Linked DNA regions of Homo sapiens: region 2 is linked to region 1. The links are contacts of gene promoters, found by promoter capture Hi-C in blood cells and fetal thymus (Javierre and others, 2016). All regions are on one chromosome and are shown on one strand. The core of a region is centred on a gene start or on the middle of the fragment in contact, and the rest is flanking DNA. Distances in the headings are between cores, read along the strand shown. Region 1 holds the start of HAAO (3-hydroxyanthranilate 3,4-dioxygenase). Region 2 overlaps MTA3 (metastasis associated 1 family member 3).

Region 1 (4,802 bases), core at 1,739-4,238:
AATACAACCCTCTCATTTTACAGCCGATTTAGCCAGCCAAGAGAGGGTCACAAAGCCAGGGAATGACTGAACCTGAGCCAGGTCTCAGGCTCCTTGACTCCCACGCTGGCGTTGGGTCTGTGGGGCATCTAGTCAGCTGTTTGGAACAAAAGGGTTCCCAAACTCCTCAGTCTTTCTGCTGTTGGTGTGGTGTTACCTTTTTATGCAAAAAATACCTCAGCACCTCCTGAGAACAGCCTGCCCCATCCCCACAGCAGGGTCCCCTTTCAGGGTGCAGACACTGGGGTGAATAAGCAGCAGAATGTGTCTGTGTAGGGCTTCAGGGTGTTCTCAGGTGGCCCTGCCACAGAGGGCAGGGGCAAGGGCTTTCCTCTGGGAAGGGGAGGCGCTGGGTCTGGGACCATTTGTACACACAGGGCACAGCAGCCTAGAGGCTGCCTGCATGGATGACGATGGTGTGGATGGCAGGGGAGGGGCTATGGGGGAGGTCTGAGCCCCCAAACTAGACTGGCAGGTCCTTTCTGAGTGTCCTGTCCTGTGGGCTGCTTTCCAGCCCAGCTGGGAGGCATGGAGGCAAGACGGAAGAGCCAGTCTCTTTCCTTTTCCTTCCCTTTTGGGAGGCTGGGCCCAATAAACCGGAAACACACGTGTGGACCTGATGTTTGGAAAGGTGGATGAGGTTGCAGGGCAGGAGAAGGCTGTCATGAACAGTCCATGCTTAAAGAACTTAAAGCTGCATAGAGCTTCAAGGAGGGGAGGGAAGCCGCAAGGAACTTGACTGGGGAAGAGTGTGCACAGGAGAGCTGGGTGCAGAGGCTCTGAGATTAGAAGCACTGGGGGTGAGCTTGGGGAACGATTGAGAAGGCTGGTCCAGGAGGGTGGACCAGCCATGGAGTCTGGTCTTGGCCTAAGGGGTGCTGGGGAACCTGGAAAGTTTGTTTTTTTTTTTTTTTTTTCAGATAGAGTCTTGCTTGCCACCCAGGCTGGAATGCAGTGGCACAACTTCGGCTCAGTGCAGCCTCCACCTCCCGGGTTCAAGCAATTCTCCTGCCTCGGCCTCCTGAGTAGCTGGGACTACAGGCGCGTGCCACCACGCCCAGGTAATTTTTGTATTTTTAGCAGAGACGGGGTTTCACCATGTTGGCCAGTCTGGTCTTGAACTCCTGACCCCAAATGATCCACCCACCTCAGCCTCCCAAAGTGCTGGGATTACAGGCATGAGCCACTGCGCCCGGCTTGAAAGTTGTTTTTTAAAATCAACTTCACTGAGATGTAATTTAGGTACATACAGACAATTCTTAAACAACTCCACTCAAGAATTCTTTCAACCCATCAGTCAGAATGCATAAACCAGACCTGCCCCTCCTCTGCCCAGAACTCTTCAGCAGCTTCTCACCTTGCTTGCTTCAGCAGCTTCTCACCTTGCTGAATAGTAACCCCTCCTGTAAAATTTATATGTTGAAGTCCTAACGCCCAGTACTGCAGAATGTGACCTTATTTGGAATAGGGTCCTTGAGATGTAGTTAGGTTAGGATGAGGTCATCCTGGAGTAGGGTGAGCCCCTGATCCAATATGTCTGGTGTTCTTTTAAAAGAGGGAAATTTGGACACAGACACACACACAAGGAGACTGCCTTGTGAAGACGAAGGTGGAGGTGGGCGTGGTACAGCAGAAGCAAGAATACCAATGATGCCAGCAAACCACCAAATGCTAGGGAGAGGCCCGGGCAGATGGACGCGAGACCTCAGGGGGAGCGAAGGGAGGACTGAGAAGGAGCGACTGCAGATGGGGATGAAGTGTTGGAAGGAGGCAAAGATGATGCTACATCTTTAATTGGGGGTGGGCAACAACAGTGATAGAAGAGATCTTTGGGGAGATATTGACTGTTGGCCATGTGGTATTGCATGGTAACCAAGAGTGTGCGTGGACTCTGGAGTCGAACTGCTCCGTGGGTTGAGTCTGGAGCCTATCGCACAGGCGCTCCGTGACACTAGAAAAGTTACTTATGAAAATCCCCCCTCACGGTGCTACTGTGAGAATGAGATGAGATGATGTAAAAACACTTGGCATAGTCCTGGGCCTGCTGTTTGCCTTGAGGTGCCACCCTACTGACCATGTCCTGTGGACACAGCAAAAATGGGGAATGTAAACCTTGATCTAGCTGGCATGTGGGGCCCCGCCATGGAACTGGGGGGATGAGGGAGGTGACCATACCACAGGGGAGGGCCTGAGAGGTCTGCCTGAGAAAGATGGCAGCTGGATGGCCAACCCTGTTGGGTGCTGCAGGCAGAGGCTACTGGCAGAGGTGGCCTAGGGAGGGTCTGGTGTGGTGTGTGTGTGTGTGTGTTCGTGCACACCTGCATAGAGGGGCCCTGAAAAAAGCAAGACATCAAGATCTTCCCAAAGGAGCGGATTCTCTGCCTCCCCCTTTGCCTGTGGCTTCTGGGACAGGGTTGGGGTGTATGATTTGGCTGCCCCCAGGCCTACATTCTAGTGCATTTCTGCCTTGAAAACCACCCTCCCCACACTTTTGAGTTTTCCCAAAATGCACAGTGTCACTTGGGGTTGGAGAATTGTTTCTCAGCCCTGGAAGGAGAGGTGCACCCTGTCATGTCATCTCCTACAGCCTGAGAACCAGCTCAGCCTTCTTCAGAAGTCAAGGCCACAGTCACAAGAAAGAGGAACAGACCGATGTGGTGGAACCGGAACAGCCTGTCTCCATCTTCCCCCAAGAACCAAGAGATTAAAGCGGTCCTTCTGCAAGCTTCTGGGTCCAGGAACTCGGAGCTGGAAGGTGAGGGCGCAGATGGAGGAGGGGGAGGAGGCGAGGGCAGGGGGCGGCCATGGGGGTGCTGGACTCACATGAGCTTGTTGCAGACCGGGGGCTGGAAGGAGCCCCGGTTCTCCTTCACCCAGGCCCTCACTCCCAGGCGGCGCTCCATGACTGTCCCGGGCGCCTCCTCGCAGCGCTGTCCTCCCGCCGTCGGAGGCCCGCAGCTCCGCCCAGCCGCCTTTTTAACCAGAATCCCAAGCTCACGAGGCGGAGCAAACCCCCGCGACCCCGTGGTGGGGGCTTGGGGCCCGCGGACTTTGCCCCCTGGTGGACTTTGGTCTGAGCCCGCCGCCCTCCGCGCCACTCCAGGCCCTGGCGAGCGCGGCGGCGGCAGCGCTGGGGAACGGCGTCCCGCGCCCTCTGCTTCTCCGCGGGGCAGGGGCTCGGTCCCCGCCACCGTCTCCGGGGCGCCCCACACACTGGCGCCTGCGGTGGGGCCTGCTCCCGGCGGAGGACAAAGAATCCAGACCCTTCCTGGACGCTTGTCCCCAGACGTTCCTTCCCTCTACGCCCCGAGGGGAATCCCAGGGAAGGTTCCCAGAAATACTACAGTGAGGAGATCGCGGGTTGGAAGTCCCAGCACCTGAGAACACGGTGCTGGCGCTGGGCTCAAGATTTGGCTTTCCCATCTGGAAAAGGGGAATGACTGCCCCGCCACTCAGGGCTGCGGCGCTCACCCAGCGGGAAGCCGCACGGCGGTCCCCGCAGGTCCCGATTCAAGGTGAGCCCCAGACCTGCTGCGTGCGGCCGGCAGACTCCGCCGCGGGCTCGGCGAGGGGAGCGGTGCAGGCGCCGAGCTGCGGAGCCCGGGCTCAGGGCAGGACCGCGAGCCCTCCCCACCTGAGGCCCAGCCGAGCGGCCGCTGTCCGCGCAGTGTCGCAGTGGACCCCGAGCCCCGTGCTGAACTCCTTAGGCGTCTTAGGAACATACTCAGTTCGCACGCAGCTATGGGAGGAATTTGGCAGATGTGGACACCGGCCTCAGTGTCCTAGCCCTCGGGAATCTCGGGGTGTTAATGATGACAGCCCCGTGTGAGAGACTCTAACAGTTATCCTGGGGGTGAGGGGCTGGGGCGCTGGGCCTGGGCGTGCATGTGTGAGGAAAGAGAAATCTGCGCGGGTGTGGAAGATGGAGAAGCCTGTCTTTCTGCAGGACTCAGAACTTTCTTAGGAAGTTTGGAGGGAGTGGGAGCTGACGGGTAGGGGAGGAGGAAAATGGCTCAGGCCCCTGACACCGGAATCCAGACTATAGAGTTTAAGAAACTAAACGCCTCTAAATCCTGCCCTCACAGCCCGCCTGGCCTGGGCTGGTTTTCTCAGCATTCCAGACATAAAGACTCCTCTAGTACAACTCAAAATCAAAACCCAGACGACAGGAAGCCGAATTCCCCACTGAGACCCTCCCGTTTCCTCTCTGACGCTCTTTTTTTTTTTTTCATTTTTCTCTCTCCTTTTTTTTAGTTATTTATCTAGCACAGTTTTAGCTGAGCACTTCTAGTGCAAAACTAGAATATCGTTTTGCACCCAAGTAACTCACACCACCTTCTTTATTTTTCTCATCTACAAGTAATCAGAGGAGACGTAAACAATGACACATGAAGCACTGAGGATCTGAGATGTGTTAAGTTTGCTTTGAGTGTTAGTTAAATGGAGGGATGGGTGAGTGGGTGGATGAAGGCATCAATGAATTCACACAAAAAGGAGAAAAAATTGATTTCAGCCCAACAGATGTTCCGTTACCATAGTGCAAAGGAAAGAATGATAGGTACTCTGTATTTTAACTGATGTGATCAAATAATGTGAATAATTAAGGCCACAAGTAGAATTTTGGGGGTCTGAAATATCCCGAGTAACCCTCTACACAAGCTAAATGACTGCTATGTTATCACTATCAAATATGCCCTCTGATTTGTGCTGTGTAGAGCAAATACCACGTCTGGTCTACTGAATTGGCAAGCCTCCTGGCTCAG
Region 2 (4,895 bases), core at 2,322-4,821, 130 kb before region 1:
TGGGATTATAGGTGTGAGCCACCACACCCAGCCTCCTTCTTTCTACTAATGCCAACGCTGTGAGTACAGCTCACAAAACTTGAAATCTACACTCTACATCCAGTCTGTCACTGACATTCCCAAATCTCCTTTCTTTGTGTTCTATTACCAATCTCATAACCATGTTTCAGCCCCTCATTACTTGTGAAGGAACTCTTAAAGGAGGCTGCTATGTCTCTCTCTCTCCTTATCAGGTATCTCTGCAGAGGAAATTATAAACCATGACTAGCTTTGAAAGTTGAAGTTTAGTTCTGCTCTTGTCACTCCCTTACCAGAAAAATCAAGGGCTTCTCATTACCTCCAAATAAAGTCTCTTCGAAAAACATCTATGTAGGATCTTCAGTAATGTGTTCATAACCCACTTCTCTTAGCTATCTTCTCTCATTCCATAAAGTACTCCAGACATTATGAGCTACTTTTCTATGACATTTTAATGCCCCATGACTTTGTTCATGTTCTCATTTCTTTTTTAAAAAATCTTCCCCTGCTGGTGCATTCGTACCCTTTAGTTCTTAGCAGAAGTGCCATCTCCTTCATGATATTGTTTCTTACCTAGCTTGAAATGATTTCTCTACTCTTCAGATTCTTATGCTATAACTGTTAATATGTGTCTCTTATTCTATTTATTTGGTTTATATCATATGTATTTATGCATAGTTTAAACATCTTGTGGAAGTGATGCTTTCTTTCTTTTTTTCTGAGACAAAGTCTTACTCTGTCGCCCAGGTTGGAGTACAGTGGCGCAATCTCAGCTCACTGCAACCTCTACCTTCCGGGTTCAAGCGATTCTCGTGCCTCAACCTCCCGAGTAGCTGGGATTACAGGCGCCTGCTACCACACCCGGCTAATTTTTGTATTTTTAGTAGAGACAGGATTTCTCCATATTGACCAGGCTTGTTTCAAACTTCTGGCCTCAAGTGATCTGTCTGCCTCGGCCTCCCAAAGTGCCGAGATTACAGGTGCAGGCCACCGCACCCAGCCTGTTGCATTTTCATCTTTATGTCTCTTAGCATGGCACTTACTGCCTCTCACATACAGCTACTCCAGAAATAAACATTAAGGACTAAATGAAGATACCTTTCGGTTAGTTTGGTGTCATTATCATCAGTGTTCACTTTAACGAGGTGTTGTACATCTACGTCTGAAAGAATATGCCAAAACTGTGGGCACTTACCTTACACATAAACATTTCTAATGCTATGGTGACAGTTGTCATCAGTGGTATGAGACAGTATGCCTTGTCAGTAACAAGACTCCATTTTATTTATTTTTGGACAGGAGAATCAGATGAGAGGGAACAATCAAAATTGGAAGTTAAAGTTTGGGATCCAAATAGCCCACTTACGGATCGACAGATTGACCAGTTTTTAGTTGTAGCACGGTGAGTATGAGTATGGCATTATTGAGTCAATAAATTTCTTTATATAAAAGAATTTATAGGTATATGTATTTTTATTTCTTTGTATTCTGCTTTTCTCCCACTGATTGTATTATTTTTTTAGTTAGGTAAGAAAGCTTAATACGTTATGCTGCTTCCTAATTTTATTAATTTCTGTTTTAAATGAAAATAGTTGTATTAATTTTTACTGATTAAGAAAACAGAAAAGTATAAAGAAGAAATTCTTTATACCTGAAGAAAATACCTGAAGTCCCACATCCTTAATAAAAAGAGTCATCCTTTTTACTTGACATAGCTTTACTCTAGACATGGATTATTCAGGTATCAATAAGAATGTGCACCTGGAATTCGCTCACCGCATCCATGTGTGGGTAAGGCCTGTTGCTAAGCATAGCACTTTGCCTTGAGAGCTTTCAACCTGGCTACCTGGCTGGCTTCCTTCCTTCCTCCCCTTTTCTTAAGAGAATGAATGGGACAGAATTTTATTTTTATTTAAAAAATGATAACAGTAAAAGTACATCAGCAAGCAATTGATGAATGAACTGAGGTATACTCATATAGTGAAATATTATTTTATGGCAATTGAATGAATTAAAGCTATATGTAGCAAAGAGATAAACATCACAAATAGTGTTGAGGGTATATACCATGTGATCATTTATGTGTATACAGAGTAATTATAAAATGTTTGCTGTGTACAAAACTATTTTATTAGTGGATTTTTAAATACATTAAATGGGTATATATAGTATATATGATCTAGGAGTATATATAGGGAACTCTAACAAATTTATAATATTTATTTTTTAAAAGAATGAACCAAACATGGCAAAATATTACTATGAGTTAGATCTGGACAGTGGATGCAAGGGTCTTCATTATGTTATTGTCTGATTTTGTGTTGAACTTATTTCACAATGCAGAGGAAAAAATAGTCTTGGCTCATCCTTAGATATCACTGTTCATAGAGCCAGTCACCATGGACGATCCCACTTTTTATTGGTGGCCAGGCATTTGGAGTCCAGAGCCCATCACCTAACTACTAAGTGACTGGATGGAGACACTTGATGAGCATTGTAAAGGGGCCAATCTTGTGGCCCCTTGTTGAGTACAGAATATTGGTCTAGAGTCTCCAGACAGGCTGTCTAGATTGGGGATTGGTTAGGAGACATTGCCATTTTCAAATTAGATTTGTATTCTGTATTTTCATTTTTCTGATTGCCAAGGGCTGTATGTTTCCCCTCAAAGCCAGCATGAAGGACACCAAGGAGTTGGTTCCTAGTATGTTTTTGTTTTCAATATTTGTTTTAAAAAATAATCTTGTAGGCTGGGAATGGTGGCTTATGCATGTAACCCCAGCACTTTGGGAGGCCAAGGCAGGAGGATTGTTTGAGTCCAGGAGTTCAAGACAAACCTGGGCAATATAGTAAGACCTCATCTCTTAAAAAAAAAAAAAAAAAAAAGGGCCCGGCACAGTGGCTCACGCCGCCTGTAATCCCAGTGCTTTGGGAGGCCAAGGCAGGCAGATCACCTTAGGTCAGGAGGTCAAGACTAGCCTGGCCAACATGGTGAAACCCCGTCTCTACAAAAATACAAAAAAAATTAGCTGGGCATGATGGTGGGTGCCTGTAATCCCAGCTACTTGGGAGACTGAGGCGGGAAAATTGCTTGAACTTGCGAGACGGAGGTTGCAGTAAGCCGAGATCGCACCATTGCACTCCAGCCTGGGCGACAGAGGAAGACTCTGTCTCAAAAAAAAAAAAAAAAAAAAAAAAAAAAAGATCTTCTAAATGCAAATTAAGACCACAGTCAAATACCACTGCCAATCCACCAGAATGGTTAAAATTTTAAAGACTGACAGTGCTAAGCATTGATCAAGATTTAGAACCAATACTCTCATATCCTGCTGGTGAGTGTGTAAATTGGTACAGCTCCTTTGGAATACTGTTTGCTGTCATCTAACACAAGTATCTCTTAAGTTTCACTCCTAAATATCTATGCAGCAGAAATGCATATACCTTTGCACCAAAAGATACGTATACAAATGGATTTATGGCACTATTCATAGTAACCCCAAACTGGAAACACATGGAATGTCTGTCAGCAGTAGAGTGGAGGTGGGGATGAGACGTCGTACAACGGAATGTCGCGTAACAGGGAAAATGAGTGAATACAGCTGTAGCTAACAACATGGATGAACCCACAAACGTAATTTTAATCAAAAGAAGCTGGACGTAATATCCAGCTGTGTGATTCTATTTGAGCAAAACTAATCTGTGGTGCTATAATCCAGGGTGGTGGTTCCCTGTGGAAAGGAGCTTGAGGAGCCTCTGGGTTGTGGTCATGTTCTTTCTTGAACTGTATGTTGGTGGCATGCATGTGTTCACTTTACAGTAACTATCTGTTTACTGTGTACTTTTCAACATGTTTGTTGTATTTTAATTAAAATATTTATAAAATTTCTTCCTTAGGGGTCAACCACAATGGCTCATGCCTATAATCCCAAAACTTTGGGAGGCCGAGGCGGGAGGATCACTTGAGCCCAGGAGTTTCAGACCAGCCTGGGCAACATAGGGAGGCCTTGTCTACAGAAAATTTTTTTTAATTAGCCAAAAAAAAAAAAAAAAAATAGCTGGGCGTGGTGGTGCATGCCTATAGTTACAGCTACTTGGGAAGCTGAGGTGGGAAGATTGTTTGAGCCCAGGAAGTTGAGGCTGCAGTGAGCTATGATCATACTATTGCGCTCCAGCCTGGGTGACAGAGTGAGACCCTGTCTCAAAAAATAAAAATAATAAAAATAAAAAATCTCTTCCATAGCAAACATGTTTAAAATACAGGCAGGAAAAGCAGTGAGTCTTCATTTTATGCTGTATGTGTTAAGGTTAGGGTTTCTTACATATTGGAAGGACTTCCAAATCATTAAAATCAGCATTATGGTAATTTCTTTTTAAATGAGATTTTAGTAGAAATCTGTTTCATGTTGAATCCTCACAGGAAGGGGTTGCTACAGTTAATGATATATTGGGGGAAAAATGTAACTGAGTTTTACAATTTGGGCTTAAAAAGTAGTCAAAACTTGCTTTGCTGTAATAGTCAAACTCTGCAGCTGACTTTTTATTTTTTGAGCCAATTTGAATAAATGTTTTACTCCATGACATGTTATAACAGAGCTTCCCTTTCCTTCTTTTTTACCCCCTGCACAGGCTATTTTTTTTCTTGATTTCATGATAACGACCTGTTTATAGTAAATTGGCTTGTCAATTATTATATCTTATAGAGTGAAAATTCTTTTTATTTGATGTTTGATTCTCATTCAGAAACTTGTTTTTGCCTCTTCTTTTACAGTTTTTTATTTACTATCCAAATGTGTTTTTTAAAACGTTAAAAAAACAAACCAAAACAGATACTTAATTCTTCCTTATTGTGTTTGTGGTTTATTCAGTGCTGTTGGGACATT

What was found. Contacts are between HindIII fragments. The CHiCAGO score rates a contact against its expected background, and 5 or more counts as called.
Region 2: a contact is called between a fragment that was not itself captured here and the fragment with the promoter of HAAO in region 1, in 1 of 17 cell types (M1 macrophages). The highest score is 5.2, in M1 macrophages.

The regions. Positions count from the first base shown.
Region 1 is chr2:42,789,595-42,794,396 of GRCh38, forward strand. It overlaps HAAO (3-hydroxyanthranilate 3,4-dioxygenase), which reads right to left and starts at 2,989. Exons shown (of 10, transcript NM_012205.3): 1 at 2,863-2,989. The coding sequence starts at 2,942. RefSeq lists silencers at 2,836-3,275, 3,456-3,555, 3,636-3,725. The HindIII fragment of the contact is 4,290 bases long and covers 2,763-4,802 here.
Region 2 is chr2:42,654,883-42,659,777 of GRCh38, forward strand. MTA3 (metastasis associated 1 family member 3) reads left to right here. Exons shown (of 17, transcript NM_001330442.2): 7 at 1,318-1,420; 8 at 4,881-4,895. Among named protein-coding and RNA genes, the nearest start is that of MTA3, 89 kb to the left of the region's middle. The HindIII fragment of the contact is 4,038 bases long and covers 1,553-4,895 here.